Regions from separate parts of the Homo sapiens genome. Here regions 1, 3, 4, 5, 6 and 7 are each linked to region 2. The links are contacts of gene promoters, found by promoter capture Hi-C in human tissues and cell types (Jung and others, 2019). All regions are on one chromosome and are shown on one strand. The core of a region is centred on a gene start or on the middle of the fragment in contact, and the rest is flanking DNA. Distances in the headings are between cores, read along the strand shown. Region 1 overlaps MYLK3 (myosin light chain kinase 3). Region 2 holds the start of ABCC12 (ATP binding cassette subfamily C member 12). Region 3 overlaps SHCBP1 (SHC binding and spindle associated 1). Region 4 has its middle 11 kb from the start of GPT2. Region 5 has its middle 21 kb from the start of SHCBP1. Region 6 has its middle 36 kb from the start of C16orf87. Region 7 holds the start of C16orf87 (chromosome 16 open reading frame 87).

The links. The method cuts DNA at HindIII sites, captures the fragments that hold promoters and counts their contacts. A contact is called where the count stands out against the background at its distance.
Region 1: a contact is called between a fragment that was not itself captured here and the fragment with the promoter of ABCC12 in region 2, in 1 of the 25 tissues and cell types used here (spleen).
Region 3: a contact is called between a fragment that was not itself captured here and the fragment with the promoter of ABCC12 in region 2, in 2 of the 25 tissues and cell types used here (lymphoblastoid cells and spleen).
Region 4: a fragment that was not itself captured here is called in contact with the fragment with the promoter of ABCC12 in region 2 in 2 of the 25 tissues and cell types used here (mesenchymal stem cells and spleen).
Region 5: a contact is called between a fragment that was not itself captured here and the fragment with the promoter of ABCC12 in region 2, in 1 of the 25 tissues and cell types used here (lymphoblastoid cells).
Region 6: a fragment that was not itself captured here is called in contact with the fragment with the promoter of ABCC12 in region 2 in 1 of the 25 tissues and cell types used here (spleen).
Region 7: a contact is called between the fragment with the promoter of C16orf87 here and the fragment with the promoter of ABCC12 in region 2, in 3 of the 25 tissues and cell types used here (aorta, hippocampus and mesenchymal stem cells).

The regions. Positions count from the first base shown.
Region 1 is chr16:46,706,157-46,708,863 of GRCh38, forward strand. MYLK3 (myosin light chain kinase 3) reads right to left here. Exons shown (of 13, transcript NM_182493.3): 13 at 1-1,607. The coding sequence ends at 1,548. Among named protein-coding and RNA genes, the nearest start is that of ORC6, 18 kb to the left of the region's middle. The HindIII fragment of the contact is 3,696 bases long and covers 1-2,707 here.
Region 2 is chr16:48,154,525-48,157,311 of GRCh38, forward strand. It overlaps ABCC12 (ATP binding cassette subfamily C member 12), which reads right to left and starts at 1,469. Exons shown (of 31, transcript NM_001393797.1): 1 at 1,317-1,469. The HindIII fragment of the contact is 12,201 bases long and covers 1,098-2,787 here.
Region 3 is chr16:46,605,296-46,608,074 of GRCh38, forward strand. The region is part of intron 5 of SHCBP1 (SHC binding and spindle associated 1); the gene reads right to left. Among named protein-coding and RNA genes, the nearest start is that of SHCBP1, 15 kb to the right of the region's middle. The HindIII fragment of the contact is 6,049 bases long and covers 1-2,779 here.
Region 4 is chr16:46,871,925-46,874,782 of GRCh38, forward strand. No RefSeq gene overlaps it. Among named protein-coding and RNA genes, the nearest start is that of GPT2, 11 kb to the right of the region's middle. The HindIII fragment of the contact is 5,013 bases long and covers 1-2,858 here.
Region 5 is chr16:46,640,560-46,643,356 of GRCh38, forward strand. No RefSeq gene overlaps it. Among named protein-coding and RNA genes, the nearest start is that of SHCBP1, 21 kb to the left of the region's middle. The HindIII fragment of the contact is 3,378 bases long and covers 1-2,797 here.
Region 6 is chr16:46,793,385-46,796,084 of GRCh38, forward strand. No RefSeq gene overlaps it. Among named protein-coding and RNA genes, the nearest start is that of C16orf87, 36 kb to the right of the region's middle. The HindIII fragment of the contact is 4,329 bases long and covers 1-2,700 here.
Region 7 is chr16:46,829,788-46,832,724 of GRCh38, forward strand. C16orf87 (chromosome 16 open reading frame 87) reads right to left here and starts at 1,393. Exons shown (of 4, transcript NM_001001436.4): 1 at 1,297-1,393. The coding sequence starts at 1,362. RefSeq lists a silencer at 1,090-1,739. The HindIII fragment of the contact is 8,650 bases long and covers 1-2,937 here.

The DNA.
Region 1 (2,707 bases), core at 32-2,531, 1.4 Mb before region 2:
AAAAACTTAACTACTAATAGCCTAATGTTGACTGGAAGCCCTATCAATAATATAAACAGTCAGTTAATACCCATACACACATATGTGTTCGTGTGTGTGTGTGTTTGTGTGTGTGTATATATACATATACTGTATTCTTTTTTTTTTTTTTTTTTGAGACGGAGTCTTGCTCTGTTGCCTAGGCTGGAGTGCAGTGGTGCAATCTTGGCTCACTGCAAACTCCACCTCCCAGGTTCAAGCAGTTCTCCTGCCTCAGCCTCCAGAGTAGCTGACATTACAGGCATCCGCCACCACGCCCCACTAATTTTTGTATTTTTAGTAGAGATGGGGTTTCACTGTGTTGGCCAGGCTGGTCTTGAACTCCTGACCTCAAGTGATCTGCCTGCCTCAGCCTCCCAAAGTGCTGGGATTATGGGCATGAGCCACCACACCCAGCTTATATACTGTATTCTTACAATAAAGTAAGCTAGAGAAAAGTTACTAAAATCATAAGGAGGAAAACATATGTTTACTATTCATTAAGTGAAAGTGGATCATCATAAAGGTGTTCATCTTCATCATCTTCCTGTTGAGTAGGCTGCAGAGTGGGATGAAGAGGAGAGCATGGTGTTGCTGTCTCAGGGGTGACAAAGGTGAAAGAAAATCCACATTTAAGTTGACTGCAATTCAAACCCTGTTCAAGGGTCAACTGTACATGTATATAGAAAGTGTATGTGTAGAGTGACAACATTGAGAGTGCTACAGCCTGAGGCAGCAGAAGAGCAGCTTTCCTTTATGTCTCAGGATGTATCATTTCTGTGTTTCTCAGAAAGCGGAACCTCATTACATTCTTATCTCTTTCATAAATTGCCTATCAGCTTCCAGACTTACAAGACCAGAAATTTATAACTAAGACAGAGGGGTTAAGACAGGCAGAATTAGGAGAGAGGTGGAGGTGTGTGGAGATTTAAAAAGCACAGTCAAAATGATCACTTCTTTGATTTGGCTATGAGAGTTGACATATTTTGACATTTCAAGTGATGCTGATTCTCAAAAGGGAGCATAAGTTAAAGCAAGTTTGAAGATCACTGTCCTAAATCCACATGGCTTAACACAAGAATGGGGTAGTACAATAAAATGTCAGCTCACACCTGAGCAAATCAAAATTCTAGGAATTCTTTGTACTGGAGGAGATAACACTGAATAACATGGCCCCTGCAAAGTAGTCTACTGAGTTCCTTAATCAGTGTGAGTTTAGAATTTAAATTCGACAGATGCAAAGTACCTACCTAAAGCATCCCTACACTTACCACCAAAAGTAGGTATATTTGAAAGGTACTCAGAGCATTTCACACGTAGTGATCTTACAAGGCAGAAAAAAACGTTCTTAGGAAGCTTCTTTACAGCCACTTTTCATCCACAAGGAAGGCAGCAGCCATAACCATTTTTACAAAATAAGTGGAATCAATAATACCAAAAAGCCAAATTATTTAAATGTTTGAGTCATCTCTTCACTTCACCACTGGCCTCAGTAATTTCTGGACCCATTGGAGCAGCAGAGTTGAAGATTAGGGAGAAGTTGGAAATTTCCTTAACCTGTTGGCAGCAGTCACCACATAGAAATGTTTCTTGAGGCAAGGAGAGAATAAAAGAAAAGAAAAAGCATGTATTTTAGACCAGTTGCCTTATGAAGAAACAATAAAAGGATTTAAGTGAGTCCAGCCACTGGGGTTGGTTTAAATCTGATACCTAAAGGGAAACAAGTTTCTAAAATAATTATAGAATAGTCACATGACTTTCAGGGGCATGTTGGGAGTAAATATGAAGTGGGAAGATACATCATCCTGCCCTCTTTTTTTTCTTTTTTTGGGGAGGGGGTAGGGGGGTCAGGATGGGGTCTGGCTCTGTTGTCCAGGCTGGAGTGCAGTGGCGTGATCTTGGCTCACTGCAACCTCTACCTCCTGGGCTCAAGCAATCCTCCCACCTCAGCCTCCCAAGTAGCTGGGACTACAGGCAACCACCACCACGACCAGCTAACTTTTGTCTTGTTTGTAAAGATACAGTCTCACTAGGTTACCCAGGTTTATCCTGCCCTTTTCACATGAAAAATGGAGCACCCTAGAACAGTGTCTTATTTTTATTTTTCATCAGCCTACATCATGCTTTGATAGAACAGTGTTTTTCAAATTGTGATTCACAACCGAGCAATGGGTCATGAAATCAAATTGGTGGGTTGTGAACAGCATTTAAAAAATAAAACCAAGTGGCACAGAATAGAAAATATCAGAATACATCATATTCTGTTAGAGAAAATGTTGTGATTTTTTTTTTAAACAGAGATGGGAGTCTCCCTCTGTCACCCAGGCTAGAGTACACTGGCGTGATCACGGCTCACTGCAGCCTCAAACTCCTGAACTCAAGTGATCCTCCCCATTCAGCCTCCCAAATAGCTGGAACTATAGGTGCAGGCCACCACGCCTGAGTCAAATTTTTGTTGTGTGTTTCCCGGTAAGTGTGTACATGTATAGGTATTCTTGTGTACTGGCTCCATACATAAAGGGTTTTGTTTGTGCTTTTGGATCCCCAGTGAGGATCTAAGTCCATATTAAATTGTTGGAAGCCACTTCCCTGGATCACAATTGCTTTTAAGATAGGTTTTATGTCCATGGGACTAAAGAATTCTGTTGTAAACAAAATTATAAAGTTTTAAAAGTTTAACAGGCCTTTC
Region 2 (2,787 bases), core at 219-2,718:
TCTCTGTGACTCTGAGATTTGGGGTCATGTAACATTTATTATTGCATTGGCACTGCTGTCTTCCTTATAGTGTTTCCTGAGGCCTTTTTCTCTATCCTTGTCTCTGCCCCAAGAGAGAACAAAAGATGTCTAGAAGTCATCTCAAGAAGAACCATTTTCCACACCTGCCCACTTTGCTCTGTTATATTTCATTTCTGCCCCTGTCTAGCCCAGAAAATTAACAACTTTATGTTTGAGAACTGGACTCTGGGTCTTCCTTGGTGCTCATGATGGGAGTTCCTCCATCAACCAAAAGCAGGCACACCTTTAGTCATAAAATTTTTCCCAGGTATGAGACTACAGCCCTACTTCTTTCTTAATAAATCCATTGTTAATTTAAAGCCACCAAAGTTATCAATATCTGATGGTCTCCCCCAACTCCCACAGCCCCTTCCTCCAGGGCCTGACTGGCCTCCAGCACAGAGGAGACACTGGGGAGCTCTCCCAGGCCCTGCCTGCACCGCACCTCTCCTGTCTGTCCCCAGGTCCCAGGCACCTGTGGCAGCCAGATCAGAAAGCCCTGTGAGTGATGAGGGACTGGGGTTGGGAGGCAGGGAGAGGCAGAGAGGTGGCAGAGGGAAGTGCATGCAGGGGACAGCACCAAGCTGGGGGTGTGGGAAGGGAAGTGGGGGTGCTTTTGCTCAAGTACCCTCATCTCCCAGAAGGCCTAAAACAGTGGCCAGTGATGGCATCTCCAAAAGAGGTCATCCATCCAGTTACAGACACATTCCGACACGATCAAAGAAGGATGCAGAGCCTGGATTCAGAGCAATTCAAATCTACCCTCCCAGGAAAATAATATATTTAAAAGTTAAAAAAAAAAAAAAAAGAAAGAAAGATGAAAACCTCATATGAGAACTGCAGTAAAGCTTTCCAGGTCTTTTTTTTTGGGGGGGAGGTATAAATCCCATAATTAAATTGTGAACACTACCCTGTATATGTGTTTGTGTTTGTGCATGTGTGGGAAAAGACTTAAAATATTCAATGTAGGCTTTTGTATTTCAGAGATTTTGAAATCGCGTCTTGGCATTTCTGCCTTTTCTTTTATGATAGCGGGGGCTCCAAAAGTGGAAGAGGGGCTGCCTTTCTTCTGGGAGCCTCGTCCCTGCTGCCTCCCACTTGGGCAGCCCCATTCAGTGGTGTCACCTCCCCCAAACCCCCCACCACACACACACACAGCCTGTCCTGAGGATGAGAAACAAAGGCCCTTGGGACTAAATGGTGGCCACTAATTGTTACAGGGAGAAGCTTTACCTGGGCTGGAAATGAAGCTTTACCTGGGCTGAGGATGAGAGGGAGGGGAGGAGGGTCAGCAGTCATGGGGCTCAGAGCCTGGCATCTGCTGCCCAGGACTCCAGGGCCTGCTTCTCCCCAAGGACCTCAGATTCAGTTTCTCTTGTCCCACCCGCCTGAAGTCCTCCTCTCCAACTGCCCCATTCAACTGCCACTCCCACCACACCTGAGAGGGAACTCTGGCGGGCCAACATTCCCTCTGCCCACATTAAAGGGCTCTCCCCTCTTCCAGGATGGCCTGTGGCCGGGTCTGGCTCTTTGGTGACAGTCAGAGCCCATGCATGAAAGCACTGTGCATGGCCAGCCCTTCCCTGGCTGTCACAGCACATCCTTGTAGAAGAGAAGGAGAAAAATCCTCTCTCCAACCGTCATTCTACAGACGAGAAGCCCAAGGAACAGAAGCCTGTCCACGACTGGCGTGGGGCTGAGACCAGCACCCAGGTCCCCTGAGTCCCACTCCAGGCTCCTTCCTGAGAGAATGCATCGAATTTTCTACGCTGTGTTCCTGCAACCGGGAATCAACTTTGGGATCAGGGGAAGGGAAGGGAGGGGAGGGGAGGGCAGGGGTAGGGGAGGGCAGGGGTAGGGGAGGGCAGGGGAGGCGAGGGGAGGGGAGATGAGCCTCATCTTCAAAACAGAAAATCTCATTCATTCATTCCCCATTCATTTAACGAAAAAGAAAAGGGTAATTTGAGCTCAATTTGTCTTGAAATGAACGGAAGGTAAGTCTGAGACCTGCACTAGCAGCTAGCCCTTGCATAGAAAAGTTCCCCTGTGTCACCCTTGGAACCCTGCACATCCCGAGCGCAAGCGTGATTCCCGGGGTCCCTTCTGCGCCTGTCCCAGAACAAGCGCCCGATTTCAGGGGAGCCCAGCCGAAGGGTTCCACAGCGCTCAGCGAGCCGGCTGGGAGGGAGCAAACTCTCTAACTGCAGAAAAAAACAAATCTTGATTCCGCTTTAAGGGTTATTTAAACATCTTAGAGGACCTTCCCAGCCTCACGCACGTGGATTTCATGAGGAACTTGGCCGCTACCTTCTCCTGTCCTGCGCAATGCCGCCCCCTGCTGGCTGCCTTCCGGCCCCGCCGCTTCCTGGAGATGCGAATTCACCGCCTTTGCCCAACCTGAGTTCCCTTCCTACCTAGAGGGAGGTGGAAATGGAGAGGGGCTGTGGGCAGCTGTGTAGGAAAATGGGTCCTCCCAGGAAGGCTCCCCGGCCTGGGGAGTGAGCTAGACCGACAGCAGTTTCCTTACACGTGTCCAAAGTGTTCCATTTAATTTCCGTCCATTCTTCCCTTCATGAATGCAAATCACTGCTAATAATATCACTCGACATTTCTGGAGCCCTTTGTGTATCGCAAAATTCTTCATCCTCTTTATCACTTGATCTTCGCAACAACCCCGGGGGTCTCATAAACACAGCAAAGACTCGCTTCCACAATCTTCCAAACGGA
Region 3 (2,779 bases), core at 123-2,622, 1.5 Mb before region 2:
AAAGTAAAATAGGCCAGGCACAGTGGCTCACACCTGTAATCCCAGCACTTTGGGAGGCCAAGGCAGGCAGATCACTTGAGCCCAGGAGTTTGAGGCCAGCCTGGGCAACATGGCAAAACCCTGTCACTACAAAAATACAAAAATGAGCCTGGTGTGATGGCATGCACTTGTAGTCTCAGCTACTTGGGAGGCTGAGGTGGGAGGATGGCTTGAGCCCCAGGGGTCAAGGCTGCTGTGAGATCTAATTATGCCACTGTACTCCGTACTCCAGCCTGGGCAACAGAGCAAGACCCTGTCTCAAAAAACAAACAAACAAACAAACAGATGCTCAGGGCCCCATCCAGACCAATTAAATGGGTCTCTGGACATACAAGGGTATTTTTTTAAGTTCCCTGGGGATGCTAATGTGTAGCCAAGAGTGAGAACGATTGCCTTAAATGATGTTGTTTTTTTTTAATTTAGTCATGCTCTAAATAAGATAGGGAAAAACAAATGCAAGATAGAACCATATCTTAAACAAATTTACATCAGACTATGAACACTTAAACATTTTGAATGAATAAAAAAGAAACTTTTCCCGCTTTTCAAGTAAGTGAATTAGGTGAAGCTTGAAAAGCAAGGATTTTGTCTACTTTGGTTAATCCGAAAGAAACTGAGTGAACAGCTGTGAAAAAAAAAGGGAAAAACAAAAAAATTTAAAAATTTTAAAAATAAAAAAAAGAAATTGAGGATGAAACCATGTTCTACTAAGTTGTGAAGATTAAGACTCAAATTTTAAAATAAGTCTCTTAGCACTTCCAGTATCCATGCCCGTTAGCTTATTTCTTTTCATTTCTTTTCATTATATTGATACTTCATAGTCTAAAAGCAATGAAGTAACATTTGTGTCACAGATCCCGAAGTTCTGAAGCAGTGTTGGTTTTTTTCAGACCTCCTTTAGTCACATATAAGCAGTGTGTTTTGAAGCAGAAAGGAAAAATTTACTGCACAGTACAAAATCCAGACACTCTGGTTTGATCTTGCCTGTTGATAGCCCCACTCCTATCTTAGCCCAGAGACCTTTTTTAAGTCTGCCTACATTTGATAACATTCCAGTCTCTCCATCAAGTACCACCGTGTCTTCTGCAAAACTACACACGATTCCTCCCTTATGCCATCCCATCTGCCAGTGATGTACAAGCTATGCATGTAAGTCATTGCTTGTCGTTAGCACATGCAAGGCTATCAAATCAGAATACAATTTTTTTCCAAGTAAAGATTGAATTTGTCCGATATACGTTATGTTCCCTTATCATATTTCATGTCAATCAAAATCAATCATTTCTTTTTAAGAGCAAAGGTATCAAACCTAGAAAATACTCAAGCTTATTGAAATTTTGGGATTTTATTGAATATGCTATGGAAAAATAGGAAATGCACAATGGAAAAACTGGAAAGCCTAAATAGAAATCATAGCCCATTTACGAAGAGCTAAAATCACACATACATAATTCTAAACCAGGTAGAACTATTAATCAGACTTTCAAACTTTTTTTTTTTTTTTGAGACAAAGTCTTGCTCTGTCACCTAGGCTGGAGTGCAGTGGTTCAATCACAGCTCATTGCAGCTTCAAACTCCTGGACTCAAGCAATCTTCCTGCCTCAGCCTCCCCAGCAGCTGGGACTAGAGGCATGCCCTAACACACCCAGCTAATTTTTTTTTTTAGGTTTCGTAGAGGTGGGGTCTCACTATGTTGCCCAGGCTGGTCTCAAACTCCTAAGGTCAAGAGGTCTTCCCGGGCTGGGCACGGTGGCGCAGTCCTGTAATCCCAGCACTTTGGGAGGCGGAGGCAGGCAAATCACTTGAGGTCAGGAGTTCGAGACCAGCCTGGCCAACATGGTGAAACCCTGTCTCTACTAAAAATACAAAAATTAGCTCGGTGTGGTGGCATGCACCTGTATTCACAGCTAGTCAGGAGGCTGAGGTGGGAGGGACACTTGAGCCCAGGAGATTGAGGCTGCAGTGAGTGACATCACACTGCTGCACTCCAGCCTGGGCAACAGAGTGAGAGCTTGTCTCAAAAAAGTTGTCTTCCTCCTTCAGCCTCCCAAATTACTGGGATTACAGGTGTGAGTCACCATGCCGGGCCTCACACATTTTTTATTTTATTATTATTTACTATTTAAGCCAAGAGAAACTCACTAAATCGACTTGAGTTCCACAAAAATGTAAAGGCTTACTGCCTTATCTTCTCATCTCATCTTTCACACAGGGGAAAAAAATCATCTTTCAAACGGGGGGAAAAAAATCATCTTTCACCCAGGGAAAAAATTACCTTCTACAATTATTTTTTTGGAGTGCAATTTATAATTTTATTATTATTGCAGCATTGCCTATGAAGTTACTGCTTATGAATACAAGAAAAAATTACTGGTCTTAAAGCACCATCTAGTGGGGAGATAAATGCCACATTTAATAAGGTCATTAAGATTTAAGGCAGGAGGCTGACAAAATATCCTAAGGTAGATCTGCTAGTTCAGCCTGCTGTGTTTCACTGCAGAAACTTAGAGTAAAGCCATATACCTTTAAAGTATTCTTTACAAAATTAAAGCCAAAAAGTCTTCTATAATTCAAATAATGTCACTGTTTTTCAAACAATCGAATTTAACAAAGGGCTTCTTAACCCACTAGTTCAATGTTCAATTGAATTTTATTCAAATTAACAAAACAGTGAGCTACTAATTTAGATGTTCTTGAACTTCCTGCTTTTAGACTCAATTTATAAACACTAAAAGCAAGT
Region 4 (2,858 bases), core at 185-2,684, 1.3 Mb before region 2:
TATTACATGGTCACTGCAAATTTTCCAAACTTGAATGCTCTGCTTCCACTATAAAACTGAATGCCTTTAACAGAACCCATCTCACTTCTTGAATGCTTTGCTGCTTAGAAAATTCTTCTGCCAGATACCCTAAATCATCTCTCTTTGGAGTTCAAAGTTCCACAAATCTCTAGGGCAGGGGCAAAATGCCGCCAGTCTCTTTGCTAAAACATAACGAGAGTCACCTTTGCTCCAGTTCCCAACAAGTTTCTCATCTCCATCTGAGACCACCTCAGCCTGGACCTTATTGTCCATATTGCTATCAGGCTTTTGGTCAAAGCCATTCAACAAGTTTCTAGGAAGCTCCAAACTTTCCCACATTTTCCTTTCTTCTTCTGAGCCCTCCAAACTGTTCCAACCTCTGCCTGTTACCCAGTTCCGAAGTTGCTTTCACATTTTCGGGTATCTTTTCAGCAACGCCCCACTCTACTGGTACCAATTTACTGTATTAGTCCATTTTCATGCTGCTGATAAAGACATACCTGAGACTGGGAAGAAAAGTAAGTTGTTTTTTTTTTTTGAGACGGAGTGTTTCTCTTTTGCAAAGTAAAAATATGGTATTATAATCTTATGAGATCACCATTGTATACATGCTCTGTCATTGAAACGTTGTTATATGGCACACAATTGTATGTAAGGTGCTGAAAGAGAAAACCTGTCACTGATAATTCTACACCCAGCAAAACTGTTCTTCAAAAACAAAGAAGAGACTGGGCACAGTAACTCACACGTGTAATCCCAGCATTTTGGGAGACTGAGGCAGGTGGATTACTTGAGCCCAGGAGTTCAAGACCAGCTTGGACAACATGGTGAGACACCGTCTCTAAAAAATAATAATAATAATTGGCCGGATACAGTGGCTCACGCCTGTAATCCCAGCACTTTGGGAGGCCAAGGTGGGCGGATCACCTGAGGTCAGGACGAGACCAGCCTGGACAACATGATGAAACCCTGTCTCTGCTGAAAATACAAAAAATTAGCCAGGCGTGGTAGCAGATGCCTGTAATCCCAGCTAATCGGGAGGCTGAAGCAGGAGAATCGCTTGAATTTGGGAGAGCCGAGATCGCACCACTGGGCGACAGAGTGAGACTTTGTCTCAAAAATAAATAAATAAATAAATAAATAATAATATTAAAAATGAAACACAAAGGAGAAAATAGACATTTCTAAATAAACAAAAGCTGAGGAAATTTGTTATCACTAGACTCACCCTACAAGAAATGCTAAAGGGAATCCTTCAAGTTGAAATGCGATGACACCAGACAGTAACTCAAAGCCACATGAAAATATAAATTTCCATAGCAAAGGTAAATAGACAAATATGAAAACCAGTATTACTGTAATTTCTGTTTGTAACTATACTTAGGGGATGCTGAACACATCAATGTAGTGGGAGGGTGGCATGCTCAAGAGAGGGCATGGAAGCTCTGTGCCCCTCCCAGCCTCCCACGCCTTGTTCTTTGGCTGTTCTTGTTTTATTCTTTAAAACAAAACTGTAATAATGATTATAGCACTTTCCTGAGTTGTGTGAGTAATTCTAGTGAATTATTGAATACAGGGGGTAAGTCATGGGAACTCCCGAATTTTTAACCAGCTGGGCAGAAGTGTGGGTGCCCTGGGGACCCCACTTGTGGCTGGTGTCTGAAGTGGGGGCAGTCTTGTGAGACTGAGCACTGAACCCATGGAGTCCTAAGTTCAAGTCTTAGCTTTGCCACCCTAGCTATGTGATTTTTTTTTTTTTTTTTTTTTTTTTTTGCTCTGTTGCCCAGGCTGAAGTACAGTGGCATGATCACAGCTCACTGCAGCTTCGGCCTCCCAGGCTCAAGGGTATCCTCCCACCTCAGGCCCCTAAGAAGCTGGGACCACAAGTGTATGCCATCATGTCGGCTAATTTTTTTATGTTTTGGTAGAGATGAGGTCTTGCTATGTTGCCCATGCTGGTCTCGAACTCCTGGGCTCAAGCCTCCCAAAGTGCTGGGATTACAGACATGAGCCACTGTGCCCAGTCTAGCTATGTAATCTTGATAAGTAGCCCAACCTCTCTGAACATCAGTTTTCCTATCTGTATAATGGCGATAACGGTGGTATGTCATAGGGTTCTTCTAAGGCATCTATGAGATGATGCATTAAAGCACTTGGGGCAGTATCCAGCACATTAAAAATATCCAATAAGGCTGGGTGTGGTGGCTCAATGCCTGTATATAATCCCAGCACTTTGGGAGGCCGAGGAGGGTGGACCACTTGAGGTCAGGAGTTTGAGACCAGCCTGGCCAACATGGCGAGACTCCATCTCTGCTAAAAATACCAAAATTAGCCAGGCATGGTGTCAGGGCACCTGTAATCCCAGCTACTTGGGAGGCTGAGACACAAGAATCGCTTCAGGCCGGGCGCGGTGGCTCACGCCTGTAATCCCAGCACTTTGGGAGGCCGAGACGGGCGGATCACGAGGTCAGGAGATGGAGACCATCCTGGCAAACAAGGTGAAACCCCATCTCTACTAAAAATACAAAAAAATTAGCCAGGCGTCGTGGCAGGCGCCTGTAGTCCTAGCTACTCGGGAGGCTGAGGCAGGAGAATGGCGTGAACCCGGGAGGCGGAGCCTTCAGTGAGCCCAGATTGCGTCACTGCACTCCATCCTGGGCGACAGAGCCAGACTCCATCTCAAACACAAACAAACAAACAAAAGAATCGCTTCAACTGGGGAGGTGGAGGCTGCAGTGAACCAAGATCATGCCATTGCACTCCAGCCTGGGCAACAGAGCACGACTGTCTCAAAAAAAAAAAAAAAAAAGTCCAAAAGTCCAGGTGCAGTGGCTCAA
Region 5 (2,797 bases), core at 22-2,521, 1.5 Mb before region 2:
TGGCACCCACACAATTTGCTTTGCTTATAGCTGCAGTTCTCCACCCACTTAGGATTTAATTGGCTTGGAGTGGGGCCCAGGTATTCACATTTTTAAAAAATGCCTTTAGCCTAGGTATGGTGGCCCATGCCTGTAATCCCAGCACTTTGGGAGGCAGAGGTAGGAAGATGGCTTGAGTCCAGGAGTTTGAGGCCAGCCTGGGCAAGAAAGCAAGAGCTTTGTCTCTACAAAAATAAAAATTTAAAAATCAGCCGAATGTAGTGCTGCGCACCTGCAGTCCCAACTACTCAGGAGGCTGAGGTGGGAGGATCACTTGAGCCCAGGAGTTCAAGGCTACAATGAGCTATGATTGTACCACACACTTCAGCCTGGAAAATAGAGTAAGACTCCATCTCTTAAAAAAAAAAAAACTGCCTTCCCAGCAGCCCCAGTTAGGGGCTTATAGATAAAACTCCCATCTCCCTGGGACAGAGCACCTGGGGAAAGGGGCAGCTGTGGGTGCAGCTTCAGCAGACTTAAACATTCCTGCCTGCCGGCTCTGAAGAGAGCAGTGGATCTCCCAGCACAGCGTTCGAGCTCTGCTAAGGGACAGAGTGCTTCCTCAAGTGGGTCCCTGATGCCTGTGCCTCCTGACTGGGAGACACCTCTCAGCAGGGGTCAACAGACAACTCATACAGGAGAGCTCCGGCTTGAATCTGGCAGGTGCCCTTCTGGGATGAAGCTTCCCAAAGGAAGGAACAGGCAGCAATCCTTGCTGTTCTGTGGCCTTTGCTGGTGATATCCAGGCAAACAGGGTCTGGAGTGGACCTCCAGCAAACTCCAGCAGACCTGCAGCAGACCTGCAGCAGAGGGGCCTGCCTGTTAAAAGGAAAACTAACAAACAGAAAAAGAATAGCATCAACATCAACAAAAGGATGTCCACACATAAACCACATTTGAAGGTCACCAACATCAAAGACCAAAGGTAGATAAATCCACAAAGATGAGGAAAAACCCTCGCAAAAAAAGCTGAATATTCCAAAAACCAGAACACCTCTTCTTCTCCAGAGGATCACAACTCCTCTCCAGCAAGGGAACAAAACTGGACAGAGAATAAGTTTGATGAATTGACAGAAGTAGGCTTCAGAAGGTGGGTAATAACAAACTCCTCTGAGCTAAAGGAGCATGTTCTAATTCTAACCCAATGCAAGGAAGCTAAGAACCTTGAAAAAAGGTTAAACGAATTGCTAACTAGAATAACCAGTTTAGAGAAGAATAAAAATGACCTGATGGAGCTGAAAAACACAGCATGAGAACTTCATGAAGCATACACAAGTATCAATAGCCAAATCAATCAAGCAGAAGAAAGGATATCAGAGATTGAAGATCAACTTAATGAAATAAACTGTGAAGACAAGATTAGAGAAAAAAGAATGAAAAGGAATGAACAAAGCCTCCAAGAAGTATGGGACTATGCAAAAGACCAAACATATGTTTGATTGGTGTACCTGAAAGTGACAGGGAGAATGGAACCAAGTTGGAAAACACTCTTCAGGACATTATCCAGGAGAACTTCCCCAACCTAGCAAGACAGGCCAACATTCAAATTCAGGAAATAAAGAAAACATCAGAAAGATACTCCTCGAGAAGAGCAACCCCAAGACACATAATTGTCAGATTCACCAAGGTTGAAATGAAGGAAAAAATGTTAAGGGCAGCCAGAGAAAGGCTGGGTTACCCACAAAGGGAAGCCCATCAGACTAACGCTGGATCTCTCTGCAGAAACCCTATAAGCCAGAAGAGAGTAGGGGCCAATATTCAACATTCTTAAAGAAAAGAATTTTCAACCCAGAATTTCACATCCAGCCAAATTAAGCTTCATAAGCGAAGGAGAAATAGAATCCTTTATAGAAAAGCAAATGCTGAGAGATTTTGTCACCACCAGGCCTGCCTTACAAGAGCTCTTGAAGGAATCACTAAATATGAAAAGGAAAAACTGATACCAGCTACTGCAAAAACATATCACACTGTAAAAACCATCAATACTGTGAAGAAACTGCATCAACTAAAAGACAAAATAACCAGCCAGTGTCATAGAGACAGGATCAAATTCACACATAACAATATTACCTTTGAAAGTACATGGGCTAAATGCCCCAATTAAAAGACACAGACTGGCAAATTGAATAGAATCAAGACGCATTGGTGTGCTGTATTCAGGAGACCCATCTCACATGCAAAGACACACATAGGCTCAAAATAAAGGGATGGTGGAATATTTACCAAGCAAATGGAAAGAAAAAAAAAAAAAAAAAAGAAAAAAAAAGCAAGGGTTGCAATCCTAGTCTCTGATAAAACAGACTTTAAACCAGCAGGCCGGGTGCGGTGGCTCACACCTGTAATCCCAGCACTTTGGGAGGCCAAGGCGGGTGGATCACGAGGTCAGGAGATCAAGACCATCCTGGCTAACATGGTAAAACCCCGTCTCTACTAAACATACAAAAAATTAGCCGGGTGTAGTGGCAGGCATTTGTAGTCCCAGCTACTCAGGAGGGTGAGGCAGGAGAATGGCATCAACCCAGGAGGCGGAGCTTGCAATGAGCCGAGATCACACCACTGCACTCCAGCCTGGGCAACAGAGCAAGACTCCATCTCAAAAAAAAAAAAAAAAAAAAAGGCCAACAAAGATCAAAAAAGACAAAGGAGGGCATTACATAATGGTAAAGGGATCAATGCAACAAGAAGAGCTAACTATCCTGAATATATATGCACCCAACATAGGAGCACCCAGATTCATAAAGCAAGTTCTTAGAGACCT
Region 6 (2,700 bases), core at 182-2,681, 1.4 Mb before region 2:
ATTCAAAGAATTAATACTGACCAGGTGCAGTGACTCATGCCTGTAATCCTAGCACTTTGGGAGGCTGAGGCAGGCAGATCACCTGAGGTCAGCAGTTTAAGACCAGCCTGCCCAACATGGTGAAACCCCATCTCTTCTAAAAATACAAAAATTAGCCAGGCTTGGTGGCAGACGCCTGTAATTACAGCTACTCAGGAGGCCAAGGCAGGAGAATCACTTGAACCCAAGAGGCGGAGGGTGCATGAGCCAAGATCACACCATTGCATTCCAGCCTGGGCAACAAGAGCAAAACTCTGTCTCAAAAAAAAAAAAAAAAGAATTTATACCAATCCTTCGTAAACTCTGCCAAAAAGTACAAGTTCTGAACTCATTTTCTGAGTGCAGCATCACCCTAATACTAAAGTCAGACATCGCAATGACATAACATCCTTTTATGATAAAAGAACTCTCAACAAAATAAATATAGAAGACAAATTCCTCAATGTAATAAAGGCAATTTATGAATAGCCTACATTCTCAGCTAATATCATTAATGGGGAAAAAACGGAAAGCTTTTCCTTTAAGATCTGTGTAAGGCAAGGATGCCCACTCAATACTTCCACTGAACATAGCACTAAAGATACTAGCAAGAGCAATCAGGCAAGAAAAATAAATAAAAGGCATCATATCAGAAAGAAAGAAGTACAATTATCCATTTGTAGATGACATGATCCTCAATATAAATAACCCTAACAACTTCACAGAAAAATTATTAGAATAAATGAATTAATAAGTTGTAAGATACAAAATCAACATACAAATATCAGTTGCATTTCTTTACACCAATAACAATCTATCCAAAAAAAAAATCAAGAAAAAAATCACATTTACAATACCATCAAAAGAATAAAATATTTAGACTTTTTTTTTTTTTTGAGATGGAGTTTCGCTCTGTTGCCCAGGCTGGAGTGCAGTGGCGCGATCTCGGCTCACTGCAACCTCCACCTGCCAGGTTCAAGCAATTCTCTGCCTCAGCCTCCCGAGTAGCTAGGATTACAGGCACCCGCCACCATACCCGGATAATTTTTGTATTTTTAGTAGAGATGGGGTTTCACCATCTTGGCCAGGCTGGTCTTGAATTCCTGACCTCGTGATCCACCTGCCTCGAACTCTCATAGTGCTGGGATTATAGGCGTGAGCCACCACGCCCAGCCCAGAAATAATTTTAACTAATAAAGATCTGTACCCTGAAAACTATCAAACATTGATGAAAGAAACCAAAGACACAAAAAAAGGAAAGATATCCCATGTTCATAGATTTGAAGAATACTATTTAAACTACACATACTATCCAAAATGATACAGATTCAACACAACCCCTATCAAAATTCCAATGACATTCTTCACAGAAAAAAAAAAACTCTTAAAAAAACACAAAAGACCCCAAATAGCAAAAACAATCTTGAGAAAGGAAAACAAAGTTGGAGGCATCACAATTCATGATTTCAAACTATATTACAAAGCTAATCAAAACAGTATGGTACTAGCATAAAAACAGACACATACACCAATGAAAAAGAACAGCAAGTCCAGAAACAAACCCAATCATATATGTTCAACTAATTTTCAACAAGGCCACCAAGAAGACACAATGGAAAAAGGATAGTATCATCAACAAATGGTGTTGGGAAAACAGGCTATCCATATACAAAAGAACTAGACTGGACCCTTACCTTACACCATATACAAAAAATCAACTCAAAATGGATTAAAAAACCTAAACCTAAGACCAGAAATCATAAAATTACTAGAAGAAAACAGGTAACAAGCTAGAAAAACTCCTTGATATTGGCCTTGGCTATGATTTTTGAATATTACACCAAAAGCACAGGCAACAAAAGCAGAAACAAACAAGTGAGACTACATCAAACTAAAAAGCTTCTACACAGCAAAGGAAACAATCAAGAGTGAAGAGATAATCTGTTGAATGGGAGGAAATATTTGCAAAACATACATCTAAGGGGTTAATATCCAAAATACATAAGTAATTCAAACAACTCAATAGCAAGAAAATAACCCAATTTAAAAATGGGCAAGGGATGTGAATAGACATTTCTTAAAAAGAAGACATACAAATGGTGTACACATATAAGAAAAAGTGCTCAGCATCACTAATCATCAGGGAAATGTAAATCAAAACCATAATATCAGCTCACACCTGTCAGAATGGCTATTATTAAAAAGACAAAAAATAACAAGTGTTGGTCAGGATGTGGAGAAACAGAAAATCCTGTACACTGTTGGTGGGAATGTAAACTGGTACAGTCATTATGGAAAATGGTATGGAGGTTCATCAAAGAACTAAAAATAGAACTACCTTATGATCCAGCAATCCCATTTTTGGGTATATATCCAAGGAAATGATGTCAGTACGTTGTACGTTGAAGAGATATCTGCACTCCCATTTTCATTGTAGCATTATTCACAATAGTCAAGATATAAAATCAATGTAAGTGTTCAACAGATGAATGGATAAAGAAAATGTAGCATAGGCCAGGCGCAGTGGCTCACGCCTGTAATCCCAGCACTTTGGAAGGCCGAGGTGGGCGGATCACAAAGTCAGGAGATCAAGACCATACTGGCTAACACGGTGAAACCCCGTCTCAATTAAAAAATACAAAAAAATTAGCCGGGCATGGTGGCGGACGCCTGTAGTCCCAG
Region 7 (2,937 bases), core at 143-2,642, 1.3 Mb before region 2:
CAGCCCATAAAGGATACTTAATAAAACATGTAACATGTTTTCTGTTAAAAGATTTGAAAAACCTACAAGAATTCTCCTTGAAAAATGCACTAAAATCAGCTTATTAAAAAGTCTCCAGCCATTTCAAATTACTCTTGATTTAAAAAAAAAAAAAGGCGGTGGGGGGAGGGGAGGAGAGAAAGGTAGTCATTTTGAAAAAATCCACTCAGTGGAAAAGGAAAAAACACACCCAGATCTACATGTTGGTAACAAACGAGGGCCTTACGAATGGTTTTAACTGAAGTAGTTTTAACTCATTAGATGTTAAGGCTTAAAGGAATGTCTATTATTCCAGTAAAGAATTGAGACACGCTTCAACACAGCGATCACTGAAATGAGATGTTTTAAATTACAACTATTACACCATGAACTCAATGTAGAAAGGAATCGTTTCAAATTCAAGAAACGAGATAGAGAGATAGAGAGATAGAGAGAGACAGACAGAGAGAGAGAGAGAGAGAGAGAGAGAGAGAGAGAGAGAGACACACAGAGACATTCAGACAGACAGGGATACAGATCTGGAAGCAGACAGGCCAAATTTGTAACAGTGGATACTGCGAGGGGTGGGGAAGTTAGGAGCGCCCAAAAAGGAGGAAGGGCTTAAACAGGGGCTTTATTCAATCATGACCCATTAAAAACGATGTAAAGGCAGGATTCGCGATTGCACAGCAAAAATATAATAAATAGATGAGGAAGGGGAAAAAATCTCCAAATTCGCCGAAACTCAAAATCATTACACGCGGCCCCCTTTGTCCCACTCAGGCGCCCGCCCCGGTCGCGGAGGGGCCGTTTTGGGGAAGCCCCGCACCCGTCGGAACCGGGAACAAAGCCGCCCCGGCCGCAGGAGGGGTTCTCGGAGCTAGGGCCTGGCCTCGGAGGCGGGCGTGCGGCACACTCTCGCCGGGGCTGCGGCCCGCAGGCTCCCACCGCTGTCACCGCCGCCGGCGAGGAGAGTCTGGGGCTCCAGACAGCCGCCCGGTGAGCCCACCAAAGGCGCGCTCCTCCAGTGGCCGGGACACAGCAAGAAGGGGCTTGGCCGTCTGGCCGCCGCCAGGTGGACGCTGGCGGGCCACGGCCCCGGGCTTTTCCCGGGAAACCCCTCGGTGCAGCCCGACCGGCCCCGGATCCCCGCCGCCGCCGGCGGGCCCCAGGATCTGCCCACCGCTCGGCCTCCGGGAGCCCGGCGAGGCCCCCCTCCACAGACAACGGCCGCCAAGCCACTGCCGCCCGCCCGCGCGCCCGGCCCCCGGCACCCACCTGTTGGTCGCACTCGGGGCATGATTTGGTGGCCATCTTCACTTTCTTGGCTCGAGTTGCAGACATGCTCCTCTCCCTTAGCGGCGGCAGCAGCGACGGCTCGGGCTCCTCCCCTCACACTTCGGCAGCCCGGCCTCCGCCCGCCCAGTCCCCGCGGGCCTCAAACAAGCCTCTGGCGGGTGCGCGCGCGCGCGTGCGCGAGCTCGCGCGGGACCTGGGCGCCAAGGGGGCGGGGCGGAGCGTCGGCCGGCGGCTCCTGGGGACCGCGACACGCGCTCCCACGGCGGCTCGCGACCCACAGCCCGCCCGCGAGCTCGCCCAGAGTATCACGAGACGAGGGGAGACCTCCCCCCCCTCCGCCAGACCGCCCCGGCGCGGCAGTGGCCACGCCTCCTCTCGGCCTGGCCGACTACGAGGGGGCAAGGCCTGGGCGGGACTCGGCAGTAACGGGCGTCGAGTTCGACCAACGAATGCATAGGTAGGGCGGGCCGTAGTGCTGGGCACGCCCCATCCCCACAGAGACCGTGGGAGCGAAGGCTGGGGAATGAATGGTGAAGGGCGTAGCGTGGATCCTGGCATTTAATAAACTTAAGTAGATGTTACCAAGGCTAATCATTGAGAAATTATGATAGACATTTTATGAGACCACTGGACCCAGCAGCAGAGTGAAAATTCATTTATTTATTCAATATATAATTGCCTAAGTCCCACTGTCAGGAAAATTTGAATAAAATGCAGTGTCAGCCTTCAAGGAGCAGCCTAGCTGTGTAAACCAGTGCTACTCACTATCAAGATGAGGGATCAGATGTTTTTCTTTTTCCAATCTGTCCGTGACTGATACTTACTAAATTAACATTAAAATTAAATTATTCGAGGCTGGGCGCAATGGCTCACGCCTGTAATCCCAGCACTTTGGGAAGCCGAGGAGGGCGGATCTCTTGAGCCCAGGAGTTCCAGACCACCCTGGGCAACATAGCGAGACCCCCATCTCTACAAAAAGTAAAAGATTTTTAAAAATTAGCTGAGCGTGGTGGCCCATGCCTGGAGTCCTAGCTAGTAGAGAGGCTGAGGTGGGAGGATCGCTTGAGCCTATGAGATTGAGGCTTCAGTGAGCCGAGATTGTGGCCACTGCACTCCAGCCTGGGCGACAGAGCGAGACTCCGTCTCAAAAAAAAGAAAAAGAAAGAAAAAGTGAAATTTAAAAACAACTATGCAAAACGTAAGCTTACTTTTAAATATTTAATTTGACAGACCCAAAGTTATACTTAATAAACAATCAGAACAAACATAACAGAAAGAAAATTTACAAACTGTACACTTGGCTCAGAGAAAATTTACCAATATGCATTTATTACAGAGACTGGCTATTCCACTGATAACTTTTTATTCAACAATTGTTAACTAAAGCAAAGTTATGAGTTACAATTTTACATAGTAAATGCCTGTAAGCACACTTTGTATAAATAACAGTTATATAAATGTTTAAAGCTTTTAATATGAAACCCACGAAATTGCTTCCTGTTTGGTCCATTTACAGGCATACCTTGGAGGGACTGGGGGTTCAGTTCCAGGCCATTGCAAAAAAGAGAGCCACACTCAATTTTTTGTTGTTGTTTCCCAGTGTATATAATAAACATGTTT